Regions from separate parts of the Homo sapiens genome. Here all the other regions are linked to region 2. Evidence: promoter capture Hi-C in human tissues and cell types (Jung and others, 2019). All regions are on one chromosome and are shown on one strand. Each heading gives the region's core, a stretch centred on a gene start or on the middle of the fragment in contact. The rest is flanking DNA. Distances are from core to core; before and after follow the strand shown. Region 1 overlaps LOC124903877 (a long non-coding RNA gene). Region 2 holds the start of MYOM3 (myomesin 3). Region 3 holds the start of SRSF10 (serine and arginine rich splicing factor 10).

Evidence for each region. Contacts are between HindIII fragments. The study calls those that stand out against the background at their distance.
Region 1: a contact is called between a fragment that was not itself captured here and the fragment with the promoter of MYOM3 in region 2, in 1 of the 25 tissues and cell types used here (H1 embryonic stem cells).
Region 3: the fragment with the promoter of SRSF10 here is called in contact with the fragment with the promoter of MYOM3 in region 2 in 1 of the 25 tissues and cell types used here (IMR-90 fibroblasts).

The regions. Positions count from the first base shown.
Region 1 is chr1:23,949,949-23,953,627 of GRCh38, reverse strand. It overlaps LOC124903877 (a long non-coding RNA gene), which reads left to right. Exons shown (of 4, transcript XR_007065541.1): 3 at 552-558. Among named protein-coding and RNA genes, the nearest start is that of PNRC2, 8.0 kb to the left of the region's middle. The HindIII fragment of the contact is 5,689 bases long and covers 1-3,679 here.
Region 2 is chr1:24,110,580-24,114,088 of GRCh38, reverse strand. It overlaps MYOM3 (myomesin 3), which reads left to right and starts at 1,954. Exons shown (of 37, transcript NM_152372.4): 1 at 1,954-2,058. RefSeq lists an enhancer at 1,244-1,752. The HindIII fragment of the contact is 13,718 bases long and covers 1-3,509 here.
Region 3 is chr1:23,978,030-23,981,605 of GRCh38, reverse strand. SRSF10 (serine and arginine rich splicing factor 10) reads left to right here and starts at 1,279. Exons shown (of 6, transcript NM_054016.4): 1 at 1,279-1,415; 2 at 2,789-2,893. The coding sequence starts at 1,351. RefSeq lists enhancers at 955-1,004, 71-1,061, 1,015-1,344, 1,775-1,824, 1,062-2,052. The HindIII fragment of the contact is 19,449 bases long and covers 1-3,576 here.

The sequences.
Region 1 (3,679 bases), core at 738-3,237, 160 kb after region 2:
AGTGCTTTCGCTTTATTTCATTCAATCCTACCATGAGCTTTATAAGGTAGGCACAGTTGCTGCTCTAAAGATAAAGAAACTGAGGTTGAGAGAGACTCGTTCACCTCTGCAACAAAGGTCTTGTATTTTAAACATTTTCTTTGGAGTTTTGTCTCATTAATAACACATTAACTATAGAAAAGGCAGATAAAAAATAAGTAGAATTCACTCAACATCTCACTTCCCAGAAGTAAGCATTGTGAACGCTTGGAAAGTATGTCCTTCCAGTCTTTTTTCTATACCAGGAGACAGTGTGAGTCGTGGTGGGGGCATAGACACCAAAACCTGCTCAGCATCACACCTTAGCTCTGTGGCTTTCTAGCATATGACTGACTTTGGCAGGTTGTTTAACTTCTCCGTGCTGTAGTTTCCCCATCTGTGAACTGGGGATAATAACAATACCTAACATTTGTGTAATGATTAAGTAAGTCAACATCTCTGCAGTACTTAGAACAGTGCCTGCCACATAGAAAGCCCTTAGTTACTGAGCTTTTTTTTTCCTTTTTACAAAGATGAAAAGTGGTATATATTCTATTGTTACCTTTTTTCACTTTTTTTTTTTTTTTTTTTTTTTTTTTGAGGCAGAGTCTAGCTCTGTTGCCCAGACTGGAGTACAGTGGCATGATCTCAACTCACTGCAACCTCCACTTCTCAGGTTCAAGTGATTGTCCTGCCTCAGCCTCCTGAGTAGCTAGGATTACAGGCATGTGCCACCACGCCCAGCTAATTTTTGTATTTTTAGTAGAGACGACGTTTCTCCATATTGGCCAGGCTGGTCTTGAACGCCTGGGCCTCATGTGATCCACCCACCTTGGCCTCCCAAAGTGCTGGGATTACAGGTGTGAGCCACCACGCCCGCCCCTTTTTTCACTTTTTAAACTCAGGATATTGTGAGCATGTTTCCATGTATATATACATTCATTGTTAGCCATATTTTATGTTATGACCATCTTTGATTAATTTACTATTCTCCACTGTTATTTCCAATTTTTTGCTATTATATGCTGAGTTGGATGTCCCTATAAATAAATCTTCATTTCTGTAAATAAATTTCCTTTAAATAAATTCTTAGGGGTGAAAGTACTAGGTCACAAGGTAAATATACAGGTAAGACTTTTGATACATATTACCAAATACTTTCCAGAAATTATGTATCCGTGTATGCCCCCACCATCAGGCTAAAAGTCAGTCCCAGGCTTCTGGCTTTGAGGATACTGTTCGCTGTCCTTATTGTTTATAGCTGCTTTCCTGACATTGGATCTGTAAGAGGAGTTGGTGAATTTACGTTGGTGAATTTCTTTGTTTTTTTGAGACGGAGTTTCACTCTTGTTGCCCAGGCTGGAGTGCAATGGCACAATCTCGGCTCACTGCAACCTCTACCTCCTGGGTTCAAGCGATTCTCCTGCCTCAGCCTCCCAAGTAGCTGGGATTACAGGCATGTGCCATGACGCCCAGCATATTTTTTGTATTTAGTAGAGACAGGATTTCACCATGTTAGTCGGGCTGGTCTTGATCTCCTGACCTCAGGTGACCCACCCACCTCGGCCTCCTAAAGTGTTGGGATTATAGGCATGAGCCACCTCGCCTGGCGGTGAATTTCTTTTGACAGGAAATAGTCAAAAGAATTTTAAAAGGTTTTTTTAAAGATCACGTGTTACGTATGGCCTTTGTACAAAGTATGCCTGTGGGACAGCTTTTTCTGGGGAACATGGAGCTAATGAGGTCCACTTATTCGTCACAGCCTCCATAGCTGTCAATTTGGCAGTTAATGAGCTACAAACGTCTGGAATTTCCACTGAGTCAGGCAAGCCAGTGTTTGTTCTCTGGCTGATGGCTTGGGTTTGGAAAGAGACTATGAGTCAAGCTTCCATGGCCCGAGAGCCTGGATTTTGCCACAGCAGAAAAAAAAAAGAACAGATTGACATAGTCTTAACACATGATTAAACTGCTAGGTGACACCGTGGCATGACTTCCACTCTTGGGTAGAGCAGGCAACAAAGGAGTCGCCATTCGCCCACAGTTTCCAAGGCAAAAGGAGGTGAAGTAACTTGCTCAAGTTCAGTCTGATCTCTTGATTCCAGTTCACCGTGATTGAATATTTATACCATCTCCTTGCCTTTGACTGTTATATCTTTATTTTGTTTTGTTTTAACTGTTACTTATGCAATTCAAAGGTATGATACTTTGCATATTACAAATGTGTTGCACATTAAATAATAACAATAAGTATCGAGCACTCTACTATGAGCAAGGTACACTGTCCTAAGCAATTTAAAAAAAAAATTTTTTTTTTTTAAATAGGATCTCACTCTGTCACCCAGGTTGGAGTGCAGTGGTGAGATCACGGCTCACTGCAGCATTAACCTCCTGGGCTCAAGCAATCCTCCTGCCTCAGCCTCCCGAGTAGCTGGGACAACAGGTGTATGCCACCGTGCCCGGCTAATTTTTGTATTTTCTGTAGAGACAGGGTTTCGTCATGTTGCCCAGGCTGGTCTTGAACTCCTAGGCTCTAGTGATCCACCTGCCTCAGCCCCTCAAAGTGCTGGGATTACAGGCATGAGCCATTGAATCGGCCTGTCCTAAACAATTGATACGCATTCTTATTTAATTCTCATCACAACCTACTGAGGTCACTAGTAGTACTGCCTCATTAAATGGATGAGTAAACTGAGATTCAAAGAGGTAGGCTAAGTCATTTGCCCAAAGTCACATACCTCGAACTTGAACCTGGGTCAGCCTGATGCCAAAACCTGCTCTTAGCCACTCTGCTACACCGATCTAGTCTTCAGGGTCCATATTGCTAGGAAGCGCTCGGAATACAGTATGCTCTAAATGGGAGGTAGCCACCCTTCTGGTTCCATGCTATCATTGGCCAGTAAAATTGCACGTATATTCTCATTGCCGATTAGAAAAAAATAAGAAAAAAAAACTAGAGTATTTATAGATCCTCATGTGTTTTGTTTCTTTGATTGATTGTTTGTTTGTTTGTTTGTGAGACAGGGTTTCACTCCTATTACCCAGGCTGGAGTGCAATGGTGCGATCTCGGCTCACTGCAACCTCTGCCTCCTGGGCTCAAGTGATCTGCCTGCCTCAGCCTCCCAAAGTGCTGGGATTTCAGGTGTGAGCCACCTGCCTGGCTAGAGTTATTTTCAAAGCCCACAAGTGTGGCCCCTGCAATGGCAGTCTTACAGCAAGATATTGTACTAAGAGGCAGAAGCTGAGGGAGCAATCAGCCTAAGGAGAAGCATTGCCCACTGTGAAGGAATTGCAGCCGAGAGAGCTCATGAAGAGAATTTGCTGAAGAACAAGTGCCATGAGAGAAAGAGGCAGCTTTAGCTATCTGTCAGGCCAGGGAAATGTCACAAGAGTTCTAGTCAAGTAGGAACTTTCTTACCGTCTTCTGCCCTTCTTCCTCCCTGATTACAACCCTTAACTATAGTTAAGGCCAGACATGGTGGCTCACACCTGTAATCCCAGAAATCTAGGAGGCCAAGGCAGGTGGATGACTTGAGGTCAGGAGTTCGAGACCACCCTGGCCAACATGGTGAAACCCCGTCTCTACTAAAAATACAAAAATTAGCCGGGCGTGGTGGTGCGCACCTGTAATTCCAGCCACTCTGGAGGCTGAGGCAGGAAAAA
Region 2 (3,509 bases), core at 705-3,204:
GATTGGGTCAATAGAAGATGGGAGAGAAATGTTCTCTCCCAAAAGATGCTGTAAGAGAGAGCCACAGAAGAGCTTAGAAAGGGGTTTTCAAATAGGGCAGGGGATTCAGATTTTGCCTGCAAAGTTCACTTGTGCTCTCTCTCTCCTTCTCTCGAGTGAGGAGTCCCTGAGGCACCAGCAAGAGTGACAGGTGTAGTGTGGGTGGCCACCTGAGGTCGCAGGAAGGGGTGAGGGAGGGAAGCTGTGCTCTCTGGCTAGGGGCCGGTACAGCCTTCCCCTCACCGGCTCATCCTCTGAGACTCGACCCAGGTGCACCTTCCTGATCACCTCCTGTCGTAAGTGCCTGACTTCCCCTGTAGGTTAGGGTCTGGCATAGGGTAGGTGCCAATGAATGTGAGGGGGAAAGAATTGAGACTGAGGGAATGGCAGGAGAGGGCAAAGGGTGGGAAGAGGTGTGGTGCCGAACACCTATTAACCTCAGTAGGGAAGGCACCAGGTTTGAGAGGCCAAAGAAAAGATCCATAGCCAGCAAACGGAACATGGGGGTTTCAGGAGGCGGAGGTTGCAGTGAGCTGAGATCATGCCACTGCACTCCAGCCTGGACAACAAAGTGAGACTCTGACTCAAGAAGGAAAGAAAGAAGGAAAGAAGGAAAGAAAGAAAGAAAGAAAGAGAGAGAGAAGGAAGGAAGGAAGGAAGGAGGGGGGGAGGGAAAGAAGGAAAGAAGGAAGGAAGGAAGGAAAGAGAAAGAAGAAAGAAAGAAAGAAAGAAAGAAAGAAAGAAAGAAAGAAAGAAAGAAAGAAAGAAAGAAAGAAAGAAAGAAAGAAAAAGAAAGGGAGAGAAGGAAGGGAAGGAAGGAAAGGAAGGAACGTGGGGGTTTGTTAGGGGCTTGCCTACAGGAGAGAGAGTCCACTGGTGATGAACTGGACAGGAGAACCGCCTTACATACAGAAATGGTCCAGGGGCGGCGGGCTGGACAACATACCAGTGGCGGCCGACTGGGCAGGAAAACCTCAGCCCCTTGCAAACAGCATGCAGTTTATAGAGCATTTTCACTTTACACCATCCCCTAATGACCTCCACCTGGCAATCTTCATTTAACCCAAAACTCAGGGCCTCAATCCCCTGTATGGCCAGCGTTCCACCAGAAGGGACGGGACGGGGGCTCAGATATTCATCGTAGGTAAGAAACGGGTTGGCTACTCCCCAGATTCCTTAGCTCGGAACACATATTCAGGTCTTCCACACAGGGTCATTCTTGGAGCGTGCTTCAGTTATCCCTGTCAGGTGCGTTTACCCTATAAGAAGGCCCTTCAGGGGACACTCTGGCAGCCTGAGCAGTTTGCACAGTGAAGCAGTAGGTGGCTCCCCAGCTCCTCCTGCCTGCACCACACCACACACACATGACTGTGGTCAGGGCGGGGGCCGTGTAGTAACTACCGGAGTGGTGGAGGGACCAGGAGCCACACATTGCTGTTTTAGCCAGTGACAACTTCTGAGCACGAAACACTCACTTTTAGGTCATATTCCTTCCACCGTCTTCATGAAGTCCAGGTGCCCAGTCTCACTGTCTCCGTTTTTCAGAAGGCAGTCAGTTCAGGGAAGCTGAGCGCCTTCCCCAGGGCACCCAGTCAGCCGGGGCAGAATTCAGATCAGAACTCCCGACAGCTGAGAACGCCGCACGGGATCTGCCCTCCATACGACCATGCCTGAGCCGTTCCCTCCTTTCCATTTTAACAGGGGCTTGGGTTGGGCAGAAAGGACCCAGCTGAGAGGAGGAGCAGTGTGGGGGGACGCGGCGGACAGCTCCACCTGTCGCTGCTGCCCAGCAGGCTGGAGACACGGAATGGCCCCTCCCCTTGGCCCCCTGTCCCCGATGCCATAGTTCTCATCCATTGTCATTGTACTGTCTCAGTGCTGCTATATTTAAGACGGTGCAGTCTCCGGGATCGCATTCTTCTCCCGGTGCCCGCTGAGCCGAGGGCAAGAAGAGAACAAGGACCCTCTCGGCCTCAGGAATCTTCTCCCCAGAGACTCCTAAGTGGGCACACTGCTTCTGTGAGTCACCCCCAGAAATCAGGGTGGGGGAGGGATGCCTCCTAAGAGTCAGCCACTGGGGAGTGATATCTGTGGGTGCATGTGTGTGTGTGTGTGCACGTGTGTGTGTTTGTGTGTATGTGTGTTGTGTGTTGTGAAAGGAGCCTGGGAAATTTGTGCTGAGGCAGCACCCAAGTGAAAATGGGAGGGGATTCCAGAAACCCCTGCCCCATCCCACTGTTCTGTGTGGCCCTGGGTCTTCTGAGAGCTGAGCTGTCTGTGATGTGAAAGTTGCAAAAAAAAAAAAAAGAGTGGGGGCTGCCCTGGGAACTGGAGTCTTTCCTGTGATGGAGCAGCGATAAGCGGGAGCCAGGCTAAGCTGGCAAGTTCCACGAACTTAGAGCGGAGCTGGCTGAGCCCGGCTTGGCCAACCCCACAGGCAGGGAAAGAGAGCGAGCCCTCGGATCCCAAATCTTAGAGCTGGAAGGGATTTCATCCAGTGCCTGACAGGAAACCGAGGCCCAGACGGGAAAGGAGTTGCCTCAGCTCATGACTGGCAAGGGCAGGATTCGGCCTCGCGGAAGCTGGTGGAGCCACTGGCTAAGAACACGTCCCAGCCTGTGCCACCCGCCGCCCGCAGGATGTGTCTCTGCTCCCAGCCACCATCCGCCCCCATCGCAGCTCCTGGAGGGGTCTTGGCTCAACTGCTGTGCATTCCTCTTTCCCTCCTGAAGAAGGGGAGAGGCCTCCTCGGCAGATGGAGGCTTGGGAGGAAAGCAGAGGGGAATAGGGAAGGCCACGCAGTGGGACCTCTGGCCCAGATTTTTGCACCCCAAGAGAGGGAAGCGGGGGCAGTTTCCCCTCCACGCAGGCACACACAGTGTTCCGGGAAGAGGCACCCTGGTCCTTTGGGAAAGGGCAGTGAGGCCGCAAACTTGTCCCTGCTTAATACCACGCATCAGTCAGTGCTTTAAAAAGAATTGGTAGCTCATCCGCTAAAGCCAGGGGTCTGGTTGCTGGAGGCCCCGAGGTCAGGGACGAGCGCCAGGCCCCTGCCTGCTGTGCTAATCGGGAACAGAGCATCCAGGGGAAGGGAGCCAGTGGCTGGTGCCAGGGAATGTTAACTCTCAGCCACTGGAGCCAGGGCCATCGTGTCCCAGGAAAGCTGGGGCAGAGTGGGGGGTCCTTGCTCCACCTAGGGTGGTACCCAGCAGCTCTCCTCCTGGGCCATGAGGAAGAAAGAGCAGAATGAGCAGGGCTAGCCACTTCTTTGGGTGCAAAGAGAACTTCTTCCATCGGGAGGGAGTGATACGAAGCCAAAGAGGGTGACTGTCCCATTATGTCATTTGAGATGATTAGCAGGAGCCCAGGGAGCTTTAGGGGGCAGCCCTTGGTCCCAGCTAACCCTGCAGCCATCCATTCTCTTTTTCCTGATGCCCACAACTGCAGACACCCAAAAGGAGCAAACTTCT
Region 3 (3,576 bases), core at 30-2,529, 130 kb after region 2:
TTATTTGCTATTTTCATGCTCATTCTCTTACAAACGTGGAGTTTTCCAGAGGGTACATGATGTGTGATAAAGGGTAGTGGAGTGTGTCAAAGTTTTCTCTATTTTTTTTTTTTTTCTTTTTTGAGACGGAGTCTCACCCTGTCGCCCAGGCTGGAATGCAGTGGTGCAATCTCGGCTCACTGCAACCTCTGCCTCCCGAGTTCAAGCGATTCTTCTGCCCCAGCCTCCCAAGTAGCTGGGATTACAGGCGCGCGCCACTACGCCTGGCTAATTTTTGTATTTTTAGTAGAGATGGGGTTTCACTGTGTTGGTCAGGCTGGTCTCAAACTCTTGACCTCGTGATCTGCCCGCCTCGGCCTCCCAAAGTACAGGGAGGGATTACAGGCGTGAGCCACCGAGCCCAGCCGAAGTTTCCTCTATTTTAAGTTCTCATTAACTATTTATTAATAGGTATAACCCACACTTTTTTTAAAAAAAGCTCTTTGGAATCTTCCGTAATACACAAGAATATAAAGGCGTTCTGAGACCAAAAAGTTTGAGAACTGCTGCAATACAGGTCCGATGCATACCCAGGAAGCCGTCAGCAACAAAGAATACACTACAAATGACCACAGTCATGAACCTACAGTGTGAGGTTTGGTCCCACCCAGGTTGGGAGCCAAATGCGTGACTAAGTGGAGATGGCTAGGGTGTGGGTGAGGGGCAAAGGCAGGCTGAAAACACTGGAGAGACAGGCCCAGCTCTGCGCAAGGGCACACACCTCCTTCCTTTACACACTCAATACAAGCTGTAAATCCTTCTTTCGCAGGTCAGGGCATAACCTGGACCAAACGGGAAATTTAAGGCAAAATAAAAGCAGGACATTAACTTGGACCAACCGGGAAATTTAAGGCAGCCTCTCTGAACTAAATAGTTTAAAAATCTGTCCATTTAGTAGTAACCGCAAAGTTTGGCCTAGAGACTAAAACATCTGCTTCCTGATTTGGGGGTGGAGATGAAGTGGAGTGTAAGGTAGAAAACGGCGGGAAATGAAGACCTAAAGAAAGAAAGAACAGGCTTGGGGGAGGGTAAGAGGCACCGCAAGAAGCCAACGAATGACACCGACGCTGAGGCGCGTGCGCCAGCCCTCCGCATGCGCAGGCGGACGCCTGGTGTTCTCGCGGGAAAGAACCGTTGCGCCCGACTTTGCGCGGAGGTAGGAGGGGGAAGTGGAGGCGGGAGTGAAGTCTCGCGAGAAGAGTCGGTTGCCGTAGCAGAGCCCTCTAGCTGTGTGTGTCTGAGGCTCGGCCGCCTGAGCCGCGGACGGTTTGCTGAGCCCGTTAGTGCGCCCGGCCGAGACACGCCGCCGCCATGTCCCGCTACCTGCGTCCCCCCAACACGTCTCTGTTCGTCAGGAACGTGGCCGACGACACCAGGTAGGTACAAGGCAGGTACTCCGGGCCTAGGCGGGGAGGCCGCAGGCGCCTGGAGAGGACCCTGGTGGTGGCGGCACTGGGCCGGGGGAGGGGACGGAGTGAAGATGGCGGGTCCCGCGCCCGCTTTGGCGCCGAACTAGGCCGCGCAGCGGGCCTCAGCCGCCGCGTGGGAGCGAGGGCGGCGCCTCTGCCTTCGCCGGGCCGCGTGGCGGGGTTTTTCGGTCCCCCTCCCCCTCCGCAGTTTGCAGCCCCTTTCTCCCTGCTTCCTGCCGGCGCGAGCAGCCCCCCGCCGCGGCCTTTCCGCGACCCGACGGCCGCCCCCCATTGATTTGAAGTTCACATTCTTCGAGGTTCACGCCCCCTTGGCCCAGAGATTTTTTTTTTTCCCCAGCCAAAAAATAGTGAGATGAAATAACGGGATCGAGGGAGAGGAATGTTGCTACCATTTATCTTTGTTGTTGTTGCCGTTGTTAATATTTGGGGGTTTTAATCAGTTGGAGGTGTTTGGAGAAAGGGAGCGTTGAGATTTGGGGAGTTAGATTTTTCCAGTTAAATGTTGCGAGTAGTTTTTCTTATTTCCTGGAAATTCTGGTCACCCTTTGAAAAGGGAGGTTTGGGAAGCGTCAGTCATTAGGACGTTGACAGCTAAGTTAGATTAATTCAGACGTACCTTAAATAGGCTTTGTTCTCACCATTCCCTTGTTTCGAGTTGCCTTCAGATTATTTTGGAAGAGTTCTTACTACAAGATGAGGCTTTTTATTTCACAAATAATGAATCTACACACAGAAAATAAGTGGTTTGGGTTTTTGGTGTTTCGTGGGGGTTTTTTGCTAGCTTTGTGATTTGCTTTTGTCTTAAATTTAAGAAGGAAAGAAAGCAATAATTCTTTCCATAAATAATTCTTTCCATAATTTCTAATAGTTACGTTAGCATCTAGAGAAATTTTCTCTTTACGTCATCTTGACACTTAACTATTTAAGAAGTTCGATATTTGTGACTTTTTCAGACCATATTTATCTACTGTTAAGTGTGTAAATCTGTCGCTAAAATTGGGGAGTAAAAATAAGTGCTTGGTATTTTTCAGAGTGCTAGAGTCGATTTGATGCTGTAAAAGTAAAAAAAAAAAAAAAAACAAGGCTTATATACAACCTAATGCTGCTGTACCTTTTATGAAAAATGACGGCTGTAGATAAAAATAAGTTGTGGTCATTCCCTTGTACCATACATATGTCTGCTGTTGTCCTGTTAATGTAAACTGCATTTTTATCTTCCAAATTCTTGGATCCTAGCTTTCCTTCATCAAAAAGATATATTGCCTATACATCTTAAGGACTTGGACATAAAAATTTGAGGTCTTTTTATGATGTTTTAGGTCTGAAGACTTGCGGCGTGAATTTGGTCGTTATGGTCCTATAGTTGATGTGTATGTTCCACTTGATTTCTACACTCGCCGTCCAAGAGGATTTGCTTATGTTCAATATCCTTTCTTCAGATGGCTGATTAGTGAGGGGTGTTGAAGTTTGAAATTCAAGTTTATGTAAGTGGTAACATCTAAAAAGTAGTTCTTTTTGTCCTCTAATAAATGTCTGTCTTCAAATTTTTGAAAATTAATTCTGACTCACACATTGCTCTCGTTATTAAAGTTAATCCAAAAATGGTAAAATATATAAATTCCCATTCATGCTTCTGAAACTCATATCGATGATTATATATGTGATTTAAATTTGAATGCACTCTGGTTGCTACTACCTTTAATGTAAGTCCTTTAAAAGTTAATATGTTCTTGTGCTTAGCAATTAAAATTTGGTATTCTTGTTTGTTAATTTGAATCACTTGATCAAAAACAAATTGTATAACAATGAGGTAAACTTCTTTAATATTGTCCCCTAATTTGCTGTCCTCTGTTGTTACCTCAGAGAATGTAAAGCTGTACAGTTATGGCGACCCCAAAGAGAAAGCATGAAAGAACCTTTAGAGTAGAGTTCAACACTTAAGGCAAGTAGACAAGCCAAAGACCTCTTAAGGATCAGGCTTGAAGAGAAGGGAGAGTTTGGGAAAAGAAAAAATAAAGAAAAGCTGGAAGAAGGACAAGCCTAATGGGAGACAAAGCCTCGCTTTATCTACAAAAGGGGGAAAAGGTTGTTTTTCAAAGTTAAAGAT